2 separate regions of the Homo sapiens genome follow, and region 1 is linked to region 2. Evidence: promoter capture Hi-C in 16 types of primary human blood cells and fetal thymus (Javierre and others, 2016). All regions are on one chromosome and are shown on one strand. Each heading gives the region's core, a stretch centred on a gene start or on the middle of the fragment in contact. The rest is flanking DNA. Distances are from core to core; before and after follow the strand shown.

Region 1 (4,649 bases), core at 1,845-4,344, 160 kb before region 2:
GACTCCCTTCTCTTGCCTTTCCTTCCTGCCAGGAACAGGTGCCTGACCCGCACACAACGCTCTCTCCAGCCTCTTTTCATTTAGGATGGGGCAGAAAAACAGAGCAAGTGTCTGACTGCTGCAGGCAACCGTGGGCTCCCTGAGGCTGCTGCCAGGTCCAGGGCAGAGCCTCGGGCCTGCATCTGCCTCTTTTCCCCAGGAATCCCTTGCCACCATGTTCTGTAAGAGGAGCCAGGAAGGGGCAGAGTTGCCCGACCTGGAACAGACCCCCCGGCCCCCAGGTTGCTGCTGATTCCCCAACAGGTGCCCGGCATCCTGGGATCAACCTGTTCTCCCTCTCCTGACCTCGAACCCTCAAACGTAACGTTTAAACAGCCGGCAGGTGAAGCCTCTTTTGGAGGTGGAAGCTGGGGCAGGGAGGGTTTTTTTGGCTTGTTCCTACACAGTATCCTTTCTGTCCACATTTGCCCGATGTGGGCAGAGGTAGGGACCCGGGGAGGGAGGAGTGATGTGGCTGGCTGGGGAGAGAGCCTTGGCCCCTGGGCTGCCCGGCATGGATGCCGTCTCCCCGGGTCAGATGTCCCTGGCAACAGCCCAGGGCCAGAGTCTGGGCAGGGCCGGGGCTTTTGAATCACACGGGCTTGGTGTCTCCTGAGACCACATTCAGCTACGTCTGTGCCAAGAAGTCCCCACCTGGGCTGTGGCGTCCCTCCCGATGGGAGCAGCAGCCACGGAGCCTCCTTCCCAGAGCATCTGCCCATCAGCCCCTGCACCTAGGCTGGTGGGGGCTCCATGACCCCCTGGGGCCTCACCCATGGACCAACGAATCAGGCTAATGTCTGCTCCGGCATGGCCAGTAAATGCAGCTCCACACCCATCAGGCCGCAGGCAGGGGCCAGTTGGGAGAGGGATGCATCTGGGCCAGGCCCTGAGCTACGAGCCTTCCCCACCGCAGCTCTCCTCCAAGTCCTCAGAAAAGCCCCAAGGAAGAAGAGGCTGGTACAGAGGAGAAAATCCCCACAGATCCCCGAGAGCTGACTATGTGCCCAGCACTGTGCTGTCCATTTTCTATGGGCCGGCTCCTGGCCCCTCTGAAGTCCTGATGGAGATGAAAACGCCACGAGTAACACCCCTGCACCATGCCAAGTGCTTTGCAAACACTATCCCAGCCTCAGAAACAGGAGAGCAGTGATCACTGGTCACATTCTGCAGAGGAGGAAACAGGCTCAGAGAGGCAAAGCTTCGAGGTCTCGGAGCAAAGGCTGACGGCCCAGAGTGTGGGGGATGGGGCCCTGCTGCCCCCAGAGCCCCCGCTGAGAGTCTCAGCCAACCCCCAGCCAGGATCTACAGTTTGTGTTCTGCAGACTTGCCAGCACGCCCCATCTACCTATCCCTACCTGCCTCCCACTCCAGACTCTACAAGCCCCGCCAGGGCCTGCCCACAACCCCCTCGCTCCTGGAACGTCACCCCCTATGTCTCCATATTCGATCGCTCATGGCACCACGTGCCTGGCTCCGTCCCACATGGTCTCCCCTACCCACCCACCTGTCCATCTTACAGAACAGGAAACTGAGGCACCGAGTGCAATCCTGGCACCAAGCCTTGCCGCCTCCTCTTCCCTGACATGTTAACAAGCCCCCAGGGCAGGGGTGCCTTCCACCCTCACCCTCTGGTTGGAGTGGGTGCAGCAACACCCACTAGCACAGCACCTTCTGGGCCACCCTGCAGCCAAGGCCTAGGGCCCTGTGCACAGGCTCCTCACTTCCTGTGGCCTCAACATCTCCTGTGGGAGAGGCATCCCTGCAGCCCACGCTGAGTGAGTCCGGTGGGGGAAGATGAAAAGGAGGAATAGCAGAGCAGCCCTGGCCTTAAAATATGCTTTCCAGTGGGACAGACCCCGGCAGCCTTAATGATGAACATCTGCAGGGTCTCGCAGTGGCCACCCGGGAGGCCGAGGGACTGATTGAGGGCCGCTCATACTCGCTGCTGGGAGATTATGCAGGGAGAGGGAGGTCCCAGCTCACAACTCCCCCTGAGGAGCTGGGGGGACCCGGCAGCCGGCTCAGCCCCCAAAGCCTTCTATGTTTTAGGGCAGCAAGTGCAGCAGCCGACACTGGCGAGGCTGGGCTGCTGGGTCTTGGGCCTGTCCATAGAGCGGCAGAACTGCACCTGCTGGGCTTCCCGGGCCACTGGGGGCCATGGTTCTCAAGGTCCCATGACATTGGCTGCACACTCAGATCTCGTGGGGAGCCCTGCGAAGTCCTGATGCCCAGGCCGCACCCCACACCAATGACATCCAAATCTCTGGGCGGAGACCCAGGCGTTCGTATGTTAAATTCCAGGTTATCCCGATGGGCAGCCAGATTTGAGAACCAGTGCTTTACCAGGGACTGGCAAACGTTTTCTGTAAGGGCCAGAGGATAAGTATGCCGTCTCTGTCAACCCCCTTCTCAATTCTGCCACTGTCTTGTGAAAGCGGCCCTTATATCAACAAAAGGGCACGGCTGTGTGCCAATAAAACTTTATTTACAAAAGCAGGTGGTGGGCCGGATTTGGCCTGTGGGCTTTCGTTAGAGCACTCTGCTCCAGGCCAGTGTTACCCACACCTGCAGGTGCACACACATCCCCTGCCAATTCCCACTCAGTCGGTCTGGGGTGGGGCCTGGGACTCTGCATTTCTAACCTGCGCCAGGAGAAGCTGCCACGGCTGGCCTCAGATCCCACTGAGGAGTGAGGCCTTCAAGAATCCTTGTCTCACAAGGCACATAAAGGACTCTGTGCAGCAGAAAACGCCTGTGGGCACCATTCCCTCAACGTGAGGGGACTGAAAGGAGAATCAGAAAGAACTAGAAGCCAGCTCCACTATCTCAAAGGACCCCGCCCTCGTGGTGGAGGGCTACCTCTGCCTTTCAGATGTGCCACTGGTCAGGCTGACAGTGGGTTTGTGCCCTGTGCGTGGTCAGAAACATCCCCCCAAACCACAGTACAACTCTGTGACAAACCCTACTGGATCTATGGTTAGCCAGAGCCACTGGCCCAAAGCCCCAAGAGACACCTGCCCCCAGATCTGGACACTGAACCCATAACCCTCAGCCTGCCAGACAAGCAGCACATGACTGGGCCTGTGCAGAAGCCCCAGACTGGGGGCTATGCAGAAAAATATCTTAATTAAAAACAGCAAAAGCTCGCTGAGCACATTTGATGAGGCCTTCTTCTCCTAATCACTTCCTACCTGTTATTTGAATCCTCCCAACAACTGGTATCATCCCAGTTTTATGGATGAGAATGCAAAGACAGAGGGAGTTTAAGTAACTCATCCAAGGTCACACAGCATTTCCTAGAAGGTCCTACAGCCAGGTGCCCTACCTCCGCCCTGGGCTGGGGGTTCACAGCCTCCTCCCTATGCCCATTTAAACCAAATGATGCCATTGCCTGATTCTTTCCTTCCGCCAGCATAACCTGAACCCCCAAGGGGCACACCAGCCACAGAAAGATGTGGCCCCCAACTGTATGGAGCTTGTATTTAGGTTGACAAAGACAGGCCAGATGGAGGCGCCGGTGACGAGGACACATTCAAAAGGCACATTCATGATGCAGATGAGGCAGCAAGGCGTGCTGACATGCAGGGCGAGGGAAGGGGCTTTGGCAGAGCAGGAGGCCTCTGCGGCATGGCAATGGGAAAATGGCCCCTGTGCCTACCAAGTGGCACTTTGGGGCATGGCTGGAGGGCCTGGCCAGGGCTAACACCCATGCTCAGAAATACAGGAGGCATTCTGAGGGCGGTGGGAGCCCCCGGGGACCTTTCTCAAAAGGTGCAGGGGTCGCAGGGAGTCACATGACCCACCCCATGTTAAAGAGCAATCCAATAGCAGGTCGCAGGAAGGAAGACGGTGGATTCCGGGAATGAGAGGAGACAGTCCAGTGAGAAGGTGCTGCGACCACCCACGTAGGGGTTGATGAGATTTAATTCTCAGATGCTAAGTCCTTACAAATGTGTCAGGAGAACTTCCCAAAACCCAGCAACACCGTCTGTGGCTCAATCTCATGCACTCATTCAACAAACACTTCACTGAGCATCTACCATGTGCCAGGTGCCCCTGAGAGGGCGCATCCTCATGACACCTTCCACCTCCTGGCAGTGTAGGGATGGGGATTCCAGGAGCCTGGGGTTGGTGTGGAAAGTGGGGCCAGGGGTCAGAGCCGAGGCAGAACAGGGTTCCCTGTTGCTGGCAGCTCTTCCCTAACACCTGCTCTCTGTCCCTCGGATTCAGTCTCCTGTCCTTGCTGGGGAAAATGCAGTCAGGGGAGGCCATCTCAGTGCGTTTAAGGGTTGTCTTTTTATAAGATATACCAAGGCGTGGCGGGGCGCGGTGGCTCACGCCTGTAATCCCAGCACTTTGGGAGGCCGAGGCCGGCGGATCATGAGGTCAGGAAATCGAGACCATCCTGGCTAACACGGTGAAACCCCATCTCTACTAAAAATACAAACAATTAGCTGGGCTTGGTGGCGGGCGCCTGTAGTCCCAGCTACTCAGGAGGCTGAGGCAGGAGAATGGTGTGAACCCGGGAGGCGGAGCTTGCAGTGAGCCAAGATCGCGCCACTGCACTGCAGCCTGGGTGACAGAGTGAGACTCTGTCTCAAACAAAA
Region 2 (4,543 bases), core at 1,109-3,608:
CCATGTCTGGGCACCGGCACCACAGACTCCCCCGGCACCCGCTGGCGGTGGCAGCAGTGAATTTCCAAGCAGGGACACGGCAGGCGGCTCAGGGAAGCCAGACAGAGCCCGGGATGCCCTGGCAGCCGCGCTGCCGACTCGCCAGTCACCGCTGGCTCCACCCCCCCTTCATTGCTCTGCTGGGCCTGACTCAGTCTTTGCATCTGTTCAATGGGCGGGGGCACCTGCCCTTCTCCATCCTCTCCGGACAAGCAGAGGGGAGTGGGAAAAGGCCCCCTCCCTCCCCCAGATCCCCCCACTGTCCACCCCCAGCCAAAGGTAAGGTGGCCCCTTTTCACAGGGCTTCCAGACCACGTTGGATTAAAGGCCCAATCTTAGAACCCAGGAATAATAATACCGACACAGTAGTCATAGTAACACATACAAGTACCAAGGGATTCTTATGGCCGGACGGTCAGCTCTCACAACCACTCTGTGAACTCAGTACCATTTTGACCCTCATTTTGCAGATGGGAAACCTGACAGGCACAGAGAAGTTAAGCATCTGTCCAGGGTCACACTGCCAGGAAAGTGGCAAAGGTCAGAGTCAAACCCCAGGAGCTGAGGTGCAGAGTGGGCCATCCCACCTCACTGCTGCTTGCCATTTCTCGGCCCCTCCTCAGCACCCCCAAAGAGGCCACCCACGAGGTACACAGCCTGCCCCGGGTCGCCCTCCCGGCGCAGTCTGGCCCGGAGAGCCCCTTATATCAAAGCTGCCGCAAGGACCCAGATCTGGCTGAAAAGGGGCAAAGTCAAGGCCACCGGTAACACATCCCAACGCGCCCAGAACTCCCCCACCCCGCCCACAGGGTCCTCCCCTTATCCCCTCCTCCCCTCTTCCCTCCCTCACACATCCTTCCTCCAAATCTGCAAAAAGGGAAAAATAATAATAATCACAATAAAACCAGTTCTCACCAACGGGGGAGAGGAGGAGGGGGAGGAAGGGAGGAGGCTGAGCCGACAGAACAGATCCGCCCCCGCTGCCTGCACCAGACCCTCGGAGAGCCGGAGCGCGCGACAGGCGGCGGGAGGACACTCGCTTCCAAAAAAATAAACCTACAATGTAAAAATAACGCCGGGCGCCCCACGCTAATTGGGCCCGGGCGACAGCAGCTCCCAGGTACAGCCTGTCTCTCCCTCCCGCCCGCCGTGCCCTCCCGCCCTCGGCTTGCTCCTCCTGCAAGTGTCTGGGGCGGGGAGGGCGTACCCCACGGGTGCCCTCACTCCCCGCAGGCCTCTGAGGAAGCTGCCCTCTAGACAAGGGTCTGGGTCTTCCCAGTCGTGCCCAAGTGGGATCAGCTCTGAATTCCAACTTCGCAAAGTAGTGGCATCCCAAGTATCCGCACAGCCCGGGGGAGGGACTAGGAGGCGGCCCAATGAGGCGTCACCAGCCACGGGAGGCAGGCCCAGACACCAGGAACACCGGCCCGCGGGGGAGGGGGACCAGGGGCGACTCTCCCGAGGGACCCCGCCCAGCGCCCCGTGGCCCCACGCCTAGGAGGGACAAGGCTGGCTCTCCCCCTCGGCTGGTGAGAGACCCTCATGCGCCCCTCCACAACAGCCAGGCCAGGGAGCTAGGGGTACCATCTCCAAGGGCTTTCAAACCCGCGCTGCCCGATGGAAAATAAGGCGCAGTGTCGCCCCGCCAGGTCCGGGGCTACACCGGGTACAAGGGACGCCTGGCGGCCAAGTCCCCAGAGCCGGCGCACACTGTGGGGGGCCGCTCTGTGCATTTCCAGCGCGCCCCCCGCCCACCCCAACGCCACTTCCCTCCTTCCCGCCCCCTCGCTAGGGAGCTGGAGTTCCCCTAAGTTCCCCGGCGCCCCCGAGCACGCGGGCCGCAGTGTCGGCGGGGCGCCTTGCTCCCCAGCAGGCCACCCCCCGAGAGCGCCAACTCGGGAGTGCAGGGGCCCCGCCAACTCCGCCGCGTGCGCCGCCCGATCCTCCCCGGATCCCCCGGAAGCGCGCTCCGCGCCTCCCCCCGCCCTTCGCGGGGACCCTCGGCCCCAACTCACCTCGCGGAGGTGGCAGCGGTGGCGCCCGGGCTTGGGGCGCGCTCGGGCCGCCGGGGCGCTCAGGCAAGTGGCGGTGCCGATCGGGCTGGGGGCGCGCAGCAGGCCCGGCCTCGGGTCGGGACGCGATCCTCCCGCCGCCGCCTCCTAGGGCGCCGGCCCTGGGTCCCCGGCCCGCAAGTTGGCGCGCATCGCGGAGCGCAGGGCGCGGGCGCAGGGCTCGGGCGGGGCGCCGGCGGACGCGGGGCTCCGGTGCGGCCCGGCCTGCCCGCGGCTCCGCGCTCCCCGGCGGCCGCGGCGGCGGTGGCGGCGGCGGCGGCGGCGGCGGCGGCGGGAGGGGGAGGAGGGGGCGGGGCGCGAGCCCGGGAGGCGGTGGCTCGGCCTCCCTGCTCCCGGCTCCCCGCCCGCAGCGACGCGCCCCGGCCCGGCCCCCTCTGGCTCCTTAAAGGGCCCGCGCCTTCTCTCCAGGCCCTGCGCGTCCCCACTCGCGCGCGCACGCCGCCACACACACAGACACGCACGCACACACTTGGGCGCGACGCCGAGTTTCTTTTTGGCAGCTCCCCGAGGAGGAAGGAGGGGGGAAGCGCCTCCCAGCCTTCCCCTCCCTCTTCTCCTGCGGGCCCGGGGGCCCTCCTCCTCCTCTCCAGCCCCAGTACCTCACTGGAATCGCGTTTCAGCTATTAAATTATAACTCTGGAGTGGCCGCTGGATGGGGAGGGGGCGCGCAGGGAGGGCCCTACACAGGGCCTTTTAGGAGCACGCCCAGTGGGGCACTTGGGGACGGGAGCAGACAGTAGCGCAGAGCCCTCTCCAGGCAGGAACACGCTGGGCCTCCCCAGACCCGAGACCCAGCCCGGGCGAACACACTGCAGACTCACCACCCACCACGGACCGGAGATGTCAGATCTCACACAGACAAATACTGGGACACCCACGCGAGTTCACAGCACCCCGGAGGACACAGACGCTAGAATGCCAGTTTCCTGAGGGCAGAGATTTCTATTTTGTTCACTGCCCTATCGCAGTAGGGACTCACGAATGTGTTGAGTGAAGTCCCACTTGGGGACATTCAGGGACACAAATGCGGAGACAATGCAACGAGCCTGTGTCCCCCCCGCCCCCCCCACACACACACACAGACACACACATCCCAAAGCGTGACCCTGGGAGCCACACACGCCCGGCCTGCACAAGCACGCAGTCACAGACGGCACACATGTGCTCGCTCCCCCACGCACAGGCAGACACTCTCCGCTCCAGCAGGAACCTGGCCCCCCTGGCCGCCCTGACAACCCAGTGTCCTCATTTACCCCCTCCTCCCACCCCCTCCAGGTTTGCCCTCTCCAACCAGGGCAGATCTCTTTGAACAGCAGAGGGCACTGGGAGCCCTGGGCCTGGAGCCTCCCTCCCTCCCTCCTCTTCTGCTTTCTCCTAAGATGTTGGAGAGTTTGAATTTTTTTTTTTTTTTTCAGTTCAACTTTCCTTTTTTGGAGTGACGTCTCAGCAGATTCAGTTCTGCCATCTGGCAACATCTGAGAACCCCCAGGGAGAGCGGGGAATGGCTGCGGTGGGGAGGCAGCCGCGTGGTTTCCAGAGGCCGGCGGGCCTCCCGCCTCCGCCAGGATGCTGGGTTTGCCGGGCTCCCCTGCAGCCAGGTCCTTCTCTGCCCCCTCGGGCTTTTAATTATGAGCTTTTGGGGGGCTGGCGGGAGCCTCTGGGGCTGACAATGTCTGGCAAAAGGGAAGTGGGTGTGGAGGGGAGCAGTTTGCAGACTGAAACAGGAGGGGTCATAGGTCAGTGCCCCCCCCCCACCTCCTTGTTTTGGCCCGACCAGCTCCAGTTCTGCCCAGCCAGTCGGTCCGAATCCACAGGCAAAAAGCTGGAGCCGCAGAAGGAAGGCCTGATCCCCCACCTCCCCCACCAAGGGTCTTGGAGAGGGAAGCGGGGGCGGGGGAGCTCCTCTGCCAGCCCCAGGCCGCCTGGCAGCCCTCCTCTGTCACCTGAAAACCCTCTGGGAATTTGCATTTCCATGAGATTCAGCTCTATTTGAAGCTGGAGGAGGGACATTTGGGGTGTCTTCAGGGGTCTCCCAGCTTCTGCCCTCGAGGGCTCCCTGCAGGCTTAGGAGCGGGGAAAGCAGGGGGTCTGTCAGCTTTGTAATGTCCCAAGCGTCACCTAGAAATCCCTCACTGGAAGCCTTATCAACTCAAGCGCCAATGGCCTCTGGCCCGACCATGTCACAGATGGCAAGACTGAGGCCAGGAGAAGGGCAGCGTTTATCCCGAAAGGGATTGGCCCTTTCCCGTCTGCTCCTGTTTCCTGGCTGAATTGGGTTATTAATCTCACCCTCACAGACGGCGGGGAGTAACACCAGCACTGAGTGAGCACTTACCCTGGGGGAAGCAAGGGGCCTGGTCCCAAGTAGGGAAACAGGCCTGGAGAGATGAAGAACCCGACTTGCCAGCCTCCAGCAGCAGCCCGTGATTCCA

Evidence for each region. Contacts are between HindIII fragments. The CHiCAGO score rates a contact against its expected background, and 5 or more counts as called.
Region 1: a fragment that was not itself captured here is called in contact with the fragment with the promoter of NCOR2 in region 2 in 1 of 17 cell types (M0 macrophages); the score reaches 5.4 in M0 macrophages.

What each region holds. Positions count from the first base shown.
Region 1 is chr12:124,403,713-124,408,361 of GRCh38, forward strand. The region is part of intron 15 of NCOR2 (nuclear receptor corepressor 2); the gene reads right to left. Among named protein-coding and RNA genes, the nearest start is that of MIR6880, 69 kb to the left of the region's middle. RefSeq lists an enhancer at 1-218. The HindIII fragment of the contact is 3,712 bases long and covers 1,239-4,649 here.
Region 2 is chr12:124,565,254-124,569,796 of GRCh38, forward strand. NCOR2 (nuclear receptor corepressor 2) reads right to left here and starts at 2,359. Exons shown (of 49, transcript NM_006312.6): 1 at 2,055-2,359. RefSeq lists silencers at 1,105-1,204, 1,405-1,624, 1,765-1,874, 1,895-2,254, 2,365-2,614 and enhancers at 2,735-2,784, 2,951-3,811, 3,812-4,543. The HindIII fragment of the contact is 7,570 bases long and covers 1-4,543 here.